Linked DNA regions of Homo sapiens: region 2 is linked to region 1. The links are contacts of gene promoters, found by promoter capture Hi-C in human tissues and cell types (Jung and others, 2019). All regions are on one chromosome and are shown on one strand. The core of a region is centred on a gene start or on the middle of the fragment in contact, and the rest is flanking DNA. Distances in the headings are between cores, read along the strand shown. Region 1 holds the start of PDE6D (phosphodiesterase 6D). Region 2 has its middle 5.6 kb from the start of TEX44.

Region 1 (3,866 bases), core at 76-2,575:
GAGCCCTGAAGTGGTGACTACCTTTTCACTGAGGGAGCAATTTAAGAACGTTCGTACTATAGATTACAGATAGGATGCATGAAGAGATTAAAGTTGGCAGGAGAATGGAAAATTTGAATATCCAAGTTTGCATTTTTTCATCTGCATCATATGGTGACAGACTAACACACTCCACGAAAACACAAAGCTTCCTTACGGAGAGGATGCAAAAGGGGCACCACAACAGGCCCGAGGCAATGATTTCTCTACCCCACTCTATCCTACCGTGGCCCCAGCGACATCACACCATTGCTGGACAGCTCCACCACAGCTAGGCATAACCGCACCGACAGGAGCGAGCAAAGACACCTCGGCTAGGAGTCCCAGCGCGAGGCACCCCACACCTAAGCCTATGGTCCTCATCTTGCTGGAAAGAAAACTGAGGCGCTGAGGGGGAAGCAGTGACCAATGCCTGAGAAGGCCAAGAGTGTTAAGACGAGGTCGATCTTGGACTTCTCTTTCCCCACCTCCCCCAACTACTCCAGTCCTGGAAGAAGCCACAAGTTTGGAAGAGAAGTTGTGGAAACCAGACGGGGGTGGGGTGCGGTGCGGTGCGGTGGGGGACCTGAGAGAGTTTTAAAAGCACTGGTATTTGTCCCACACAAGGTCGCCCGCTCCAAGTCACTGTTCCCCGCTCCCCGGGTAGGCTTATAGCCAAAGAGGCTTCTAGGCTTCGAGATCAGCCCACCGCGCCCCCTCAGCCCTTCTCCGCGGGCCGCAGCCCCATCCCGGCCTCTGGGTCCCGGCCGGGGATCGGAACCCAGCCGGCTTCTCCGACAGCGTTTCCGACGCCCGGCACCTCTCGCAGCCCCGTCCCCCAGGCTCCCCCGTCTCCACCCGCCACCCCCCGGCGCTCCCGTCAACGTCCCCTTCCTCCCTCAGGACGCCCCTTGGGGCGCCTCTCGCGCCGGGTCCCGCCGGGTGCTCGGCACGCTGTTCCTTTCCTCTCCCCTCCCGCGGCCCTTCTTCTGTGGGGCCCACCTGGCGCGGCCCCCGCCCCCGGCCAGTCTCCTCAGTGAGCGGCCGCCTCCCAAGTCCTCCCGGCCCCGCCCCGCTCCCGGACGGATACAGTTTGAAGCCCCTCAGGATCTCCCTGGCCCGCTCGTCCTTGGCTGACATGATGCGGCGGTCGCCGCCCGCGGCTTTCTCACTCTGGTCGGCGGAGCCTCGCAGACGGTGCCCAGGAGCCGAGGATGGAGCCGCAGCCCGGCTTGGAGACCTCGGGCTAGCAGCCGCAGCGGCCAGACCAGGACCGGCCTCTCTCTCCCCTCAGCTCCCGCTTCTGATCCCTTCTCCTTCCCCCTAGCCTCGCAGTGCCCTCCTGGAACCAATGGAAAGCCAGCCTTGGCGATTGGCATCTCAACCAGCCAGTAGGAGCGCGCAGCGGCTTCGCAGGGGGACTGTTAACGTCAATGGGAAGGGCCCTCCCCGGGAAGTCCCATAGGACACAATATTCATCTGGTGTTGTTGCCTAGAGTTTGTCCCAGCGGAGGGTTGGCTTCGGATCTGCAGAGGCTTTAGGGACCTGCTCCAGCCACTGAGCACACTAGCCGTCTGAGACGGCAGCTGAGTTGCACTGTGCGACGCGACAGAGACTACATTTCCCAGCATTCCAGCGGCGCACTCGGGGGACCACAGATCCCAGCGCACCACAAAGAGGCCCGGGGACTACAAATCCCAGCATCCCCTGCACTCGGTTCCTCTGTAACTTAGACTCCAGTGTGCCGCGCAGTGTGCGCAAATTCACAAACCCGCCCGCTGAGTTGGTCGTTTCGGAATCCCGAGACTTGAAACCCAACGGGAAGACCCTTCTCACCCTCAAAAGAAGATGACAGCCCGCAGAGAGTTAACTTCTGTTTACATGGAACTCAGACATCTGCAAATCATGGTAAGGCTGCAAACAACAAACAAAAACACTGATTAAACCGTGAAAGAGAACAAAATGACTTCTTCAAATCGTGCTTGTTTGTTGGTCTGAGGCGCCTTTTACATGTATTTCAGGGTTTTTTGCTGTATTCCTGGTTTGCACCGGGAGAGCTATGGATTGTATACTCAGAATATCAAAACATAAAGGGACTTTGCTAATCTATCCCCTGTTGTTACGTATGAGGAAATTGAGGCCCAGAGAGGCGAAGGGATTGGCCACAGATCACAGCAAGTTCGGGCAGAGTTAGAATTCAGCCCTAAGTCGGCTGACTTGCAGTCTGGACTCTTTGCACCACACTAAGGAGGTGATATTTTTAGCAGCATGGCAATGTGAATTATTCTCCTTGAACGGTTTTCCTATCCACTGTTGAAACACCCAGAATTAGGTAGCATTTATTTGGTGGATTTCTTGCGAGTGAGGGAGTGTGATATTTATTTATTTTCAGCCTAGGTAGGATTTGGTGTTTTGTTTTTTGCCACTCAAGGTGACATTTAATGTGATTTCAGGAAGTAGGTAAAATTACAGTGTGAGCCACGGTTTCCTTGGAAACCTCCTCTGTCCTTCTCTTGGCCTTCCTTCCTCTGCCTGTCCCCACTTTCACCCATCTGGGAACTCACCCAATTTTTTCTTCCATGTAATTCAACAAATATCTTTTCAGCCTGTTATTTGTCAGGCACTGAGTGGGTAAAAGGTGAAGGACATGGTCACTGCCACCAGGAAGATGAACATATATTTAGGGAAATAAGGAGACTCCACTGAGATTCAAGATGGAGTGTGATAAAATGGCATAAAGAAATGACATCAGAATGCTAAGGAGGCCCTGATGAAAAGGTTCATTGCAGCTGGCAAAACTTTAATGGACAAGGTGGCATTTGAACTTGAATTTTTTTTCCATGTTAAAAAAGTTTTTTTTTTGTTAATGAGGTGTAACATACAGTATGGGAACAATTTTCACATAGGTATACACCCCTGTCGCCACTACCCAAATCAAGATATAGAACATTTCTAGCACACTTAGTGCTCCCTCCCAATCAGTATTACATCCTTACATATTGAGATAATCACTCTTCTGACTGTATCACCATAGATCAGTTTTCTCTGTTCTTGAATTCCAGTTAAATATAATAATACAGTATGTACAGTATGTGTCTGGCTTTTTTACTTTATCAGTATTTTTGTGAAATTCATCCATGTTGTGTGTAGCCTTTTAATTGCTGAATAGTATTCTGTTGTATGTTTATACCACAATTTATCTTTTCCACTGTTGGCGGGCATTTGGGTTGTTATTTTTTGGACTATTATTAGCAAAGCCGTAGTGAGCATTCTTACATGTTTCTTTTTGTAGACACTTGCACACATTTCTAGGAGAGGAATTGCTAGTGTGTAGGGAGGGTATGCACATGATCAGTGATAGTAGACATTGCCAGTTTTTCAAAATGATTGTACCAATTTACGCCTTTGCCAGCAATATGAGAGAGTTCTAGGTGCCTCTTATCCTTGTCAACACAAGAGTTTTGTTGTCAGTCTTCTTAATTGTAGCCGTTCTGGCTGAATGTGGTATCTCATTAAGGTATTTATTTGCATTTTTCCTGATGTTGAGCACCTTTCAATGTGCTTGTTGGCTAGTTGAACGTCCTCTTTCGTGAAGTGCCTGTTCTTTTCCCAACTTTTAAAAATTGGGCTGTCTTCTTATTGATTTGTAGTTCTTTACAGTCTGGATATGGAGTTCTTTGATATATGCTTTGCAGATATCTTTTCCAAGGCATGGCTTGTCTTTTCACTCTCTTACTGGTGTCTTTTGAAACAAATTATATTTTTGAGGGATGGGGTCTCTGCTGTGTTGCCCAGGCTGGAATGCAGTGGCTATTCACAGGCACCAGCATTGCCCACTGCAACCTCG
Region 2 (4,218 bases), core at 212-2,711, 190 kb before region 1:
CTGTACAGGCTTTATACAGCTTCATAATATTCCATAAACTGAGTTTACCCTAAAATAAGAGTATTTAATTATTTAATTCGAGAGTCATTCTCCCCAAGAGAAAGGAGTTGAGGGCCAGGCACGGTGGCTCATGCTTGTAAATCCCAGCACTTTGGGAGGCTGAGGCAGGCGGATCACTTGAGGTCAAGAGTTCGAGACCAGCCTGGCCAACATGGCAAAACCCCATGTCAACTAAAAATACAAAAATTAGCCGGGCATGGTGGCAGGTACCCGTAATCCCAGCTACTTGGGAGGCTGAGGCAGGAGAGTTGCCTGAACCCAGGAGGCAGAGGTTGCAGTGAGCCAAGATCACTCACGCCACCGCACTCCAGCCCGCAACCTGGGGGACAAGAGTAAGACTTCATCTCAAAAAAAAAAAAAATTAGCCAGGTGTGGTGGCAAATGCCTGTAGTCCCAGCTACTTGGGAGGCTGAGGCATGAGAATCGCTTGAACCTGGGAGGCAGAGGTTGCAGTGAGCCGAGATCATGCCACTGCACTCCAGCCTGGGTGACAGAGTGAGACTCCATCTCAAAAAAAAAAAAAAAAAAAAAAAAAAAAAGAGAGAGAGAGAGAAAGGAATTGAAAAGAAAGCAAAGGCAAATTATTTGAGACGAATTTCCTCTTATGAGAACTACTTAATAAAGGTAGAGAACTCTTTTTACAAGATGATGCCAAAGGCAAAGAAGGAAGCTCTTGCCCCTCCTAAAGCTGAAGCCAAAGCAAAGGCTTTGAAGGCCAAGAAGGCAGAGCTGAAAGGTATCCACAGCCACAAAAAAAAGATCTGCACGTCACCCACCTTCCAGCGGCCCAAGACACTGCGACTCTGGAGGCGGCCCAGATATTCCCAGAAGAGCATCCCTGGGAGAAATAAGCTTGGCCACTGTGTTATCATCAAGTTTCCGCTGACCACTGAGTTGGCCACGAAGAAGACAGACGACAACAACACACTGTGTTCATTGTGGATGTTAAAGCCAACAAGCACCAGATCAAACAGGCTGTGAAGAAGCTCTATGACATCGACGTGGCAGTGGTCAACACCCTGAATAGGCCTGATGGAGAGAAGAAGGCATATGTTCAACTGGCTGCTGATTATGATGCTTTGGATGTTGCCAACAAAAATGAGATCATGTGGTTGGGCACGGTGGCTCACACCTATAATCCCAGCACTTCGGGAGGCCGAGGAGAGTGGATCACCTGAGGTCAGGAGTTTGAGACCAGCCTGGCCGACATGGCAAAACCCTGTCTCTATTAAAAATACAAGAAAATAAGCCAGGTGTGGTGGTGCGCTCCTGTAGTCCCAGCTACTCAGGAGGCTAAAACAGAAGAATCACTTGAACCCAGGAGGCAGAGGTTTCAGTGAGCTGAGATCACATCACTGCACTCCAGCCTGGGCCATAGAGCAAGACTCTGTCTCAAAAAAAACAAAAAAAAAGCCAGGCGCGGTGGCTCACGCCTGTAATCCCAGCACTTTGGGAGGCTGAGGCGGGCGGATCACCTGAGGTCAAAAGTTTGAGAACAGCCTGACCAACATGGAGAAACCCCATCTCCACTAAAAATACAAAATTAGCTGGACGTGGTGGCGCATGCCTGTAATCCCAGCTACTCGGGAGGCTGAGGCAGAAGAATCACTTGAACTCGGGAGGAGGAGGTTACGGTGAGCCAAGATCGCGCCATTGCACTCCAGTCTGAGCAACAAGAGTGAAACTCTATCTCAAAAAAAAAAAAAGGGATCATCTAAACTGAGTCCAGCTGGCTAATTCTAAATATATATATATCTTTTCACCAGAAAAAAAAAAATAAAAGTAGGAAAGTTTTTAACTAAGATGGAGAAAACTTTCATATATATTTTATTTTGTATTTTATTTATGTACAGAATATATCTAAAATATATATTGTCCACATAACAGAATAAATATATTTTGTTCTATACTGATCTCATTTAATATTTATTTACAAATAAATAATCCTTTATTTTTTGTTCCCCAATTTTAATAAATCTCTCTGCCTTTGACATCAGTGCCTATTCATTCCACTGTAGCCTTCCTTGGGCACGATTTTCAAGCATATGAAACTTTTTTTTTTTTTGAGATGAAGTTTCACTCTTGTTGCCCAGGCTGGAGTGCAATGGTGCAACCTCGGCTCACCACAACCTCCGCCTTCCAGGTTCAAGCAATTCTCCTGCCTCAGTCTCCTGAGTAGCTGGAATGACAGGTGCACCACCAAGCCCAGCTAATTTTGTATTTTTAGTAAAATGGGGTTTATCCACGTTGGTCAGGCTGGTCTCAAACTCCTGATCTCAGGTGATCCACCCGCCTCGGCCTCCCAAAGTGCTAGGATTACAGGCGTGAGCCACCATGCCTGGCCCAAGCATATGAAATGTAACAAGGGTCAACATAAAGTGCAACATGTAGAATCAAAAGCTGAATTCCAAATACAGAGTTTGTCCTTGGTGCCTATAAGGTGCATGATGGTTTTAGTGGGCCACATGAGGGGACATCAGAAACTTTCTATTCTCAACACACACACACAAAGTAAGAAAGAAAGAAAATGGCCAGGTGCGGTGGCTCATGCTTGTAATCCCAGCATTTTGGGAGGCCAAGGCAGGCAGATTGCTTGAGCCCAGAAGTTCAAGACCATCCTGGGCAACATAGTGAGACTCCATCTCTACAAAATATTTAAAAATCAGCCAGCCATGGTGCACACACCTGTAGTCCCAACTACTCAGAGGCTGAGGTGGGAGGATCCCTTGAGCCCAGGAGGTCAAGGCTGCAGTGAGCTATGATTGTACCACTGTACTCCAGCCTGGGCAACATAGTGAGACCCTGTTGAAAGAAAACAAGAAAAAAGAGAGAAGGGGGAAGAGGAAAGAAAGAGAAAGAAAAGAGAAGAGAAGAGGAGGGAAAAGGAGGGAAGGGAAAGGAAGGGAAGGGAAAGGAAGGGAAGGGAAGGGAAGGGAAAGAAAAAAGAAAAGAAAGAGGGAGGGAGGAAGGAAGGAGGGTGGGGGAAGGAGGGAGGGAGGGAGGGAGATGGAAACTATACGAGGTGAGGGATATGTTAATTAGCTTGATTGTAGTGATTATTTCACAGTCTAATGTACAACAAAACATTAAGTCAGCCAGGCACAGTGGCTCACGTCTGTAATCCTAGCACTTTGGGAGGCAGAGGCAGGTGGATCACGGGTCAGGAGTTCAAGACCAGCCTGGCCAAGATGGTGAAACCCCGTCTCTACTAAAAATACAAAAATTAGCCAGGCTCGGTGACAGGCGCCTGTAATCCCGGCTACTTGGAAGGCTGAGGCAGGAGAATCGCTTGAACCCGGGGGCCGGAGGTTGCAGTGAACTGAGATCGTGCCACTGCACTCCAGCCTGGGTGACAGAGTGAGATTCCATCTCAAAAAAAAAAAAAAATTAAGTCATATATAGGTTTTTATTTCCTGGGTAAAGATAGGGAGCGGGGAGAACTTTCTAACTAAAAGCAGGGAGCTGTGTGGGGTGTGGGGCTTTGGAGTCAGGCAGATGCCACTGACCTTGCTATGTGCTTGGCTTCTCTAAGCCTCAGTTTCCTCATCTGAAAAATGGGGAAATAACCCCTGCCCAGCGTCAGGCCTACTGACACTCAGTGCCATATGCTACTCTTGATTGTTTAGGACTGGAAGATATTCAAGCAAACACGGACCAACCACTTGACAGGGATCTCATAACTGTTAGAATTGGATTAGGATTACGTTTAGCTGCATGTAATAGAAAACCAAAAATAATCATTTGGGCACATATAGTGTTATTTTCCCTCACATAAAGGAATTTGAGAGGTTGGCGATAGTCTGGTCTGGTGGCTGCCGGACAGCTCCAATCATGGGACCCAGGGTCCTTCCATCCTTGCTTGGTCCACCCTCTTACTGTGTGCCTTCCACCCTCAAGATTACCTAGAGGGTTGCTAGACCAGTCCTCTTGCTGGACCAAGAGGGTTGCTGTTGCTCCAGCCTTCACATTCCTGATAGGGGGAAGAGCAAAAAGATGTTAAACTCTTTGAAGGATCCTTTCTGAAGTTCGACTCAATACTTTCTGCTTACTTCTCAATGGCCAGAACATGGTCACATGTTCTTACCTACCTGCAAAGGAGGCTGGGAAATGTGTTCTTTTAGCTAAGACACAGAGGCCCTGAATAAAATCAGGGTCCTG

The links. Contacts are between HindIII fragments. The study calls those that stand out against the background at their distance.
Region 2: a contact is called between a fragment that was not itself captured here and the fragment with the promoter of PDE6D in region 1, in 2 of the 25 tissues and cell types used here (H1 embryonic stem cells and IMR-90 fibroblasts).

The regions. Positions count from the first base shown.
Region 1 is chr2:231,779,957-231,783,822 of GRCh38, forward strand. PDE6D (phosphodiesterase 6D) reads right to left here and starts at 1,326. Exons shown (of 5, transcript NM_002601.4): 1 at 1,109-1,326. The coding sequence starts at 1,158. It also overlaps a transcript of COPS7B not described here. RefSeq lists enhancers at 493-572, 1,123-1,352 and silencers at 516-739, 863-912. The HindIII fragment of the contact is 5,328 bases long and covers 1-3,866 here.
Region 2 is chr2:231,585,159-231,589,376 of GRCh38, forward strand. It overlaps the pseudogene RPL23AP26. Among named protein-coding and RNA genes, the nearest start is that of TEX44, 5.6 kb to the right of the region's middle. The HindIII fragment of the contact is 4,173 bases long and covers 1-3,548 here.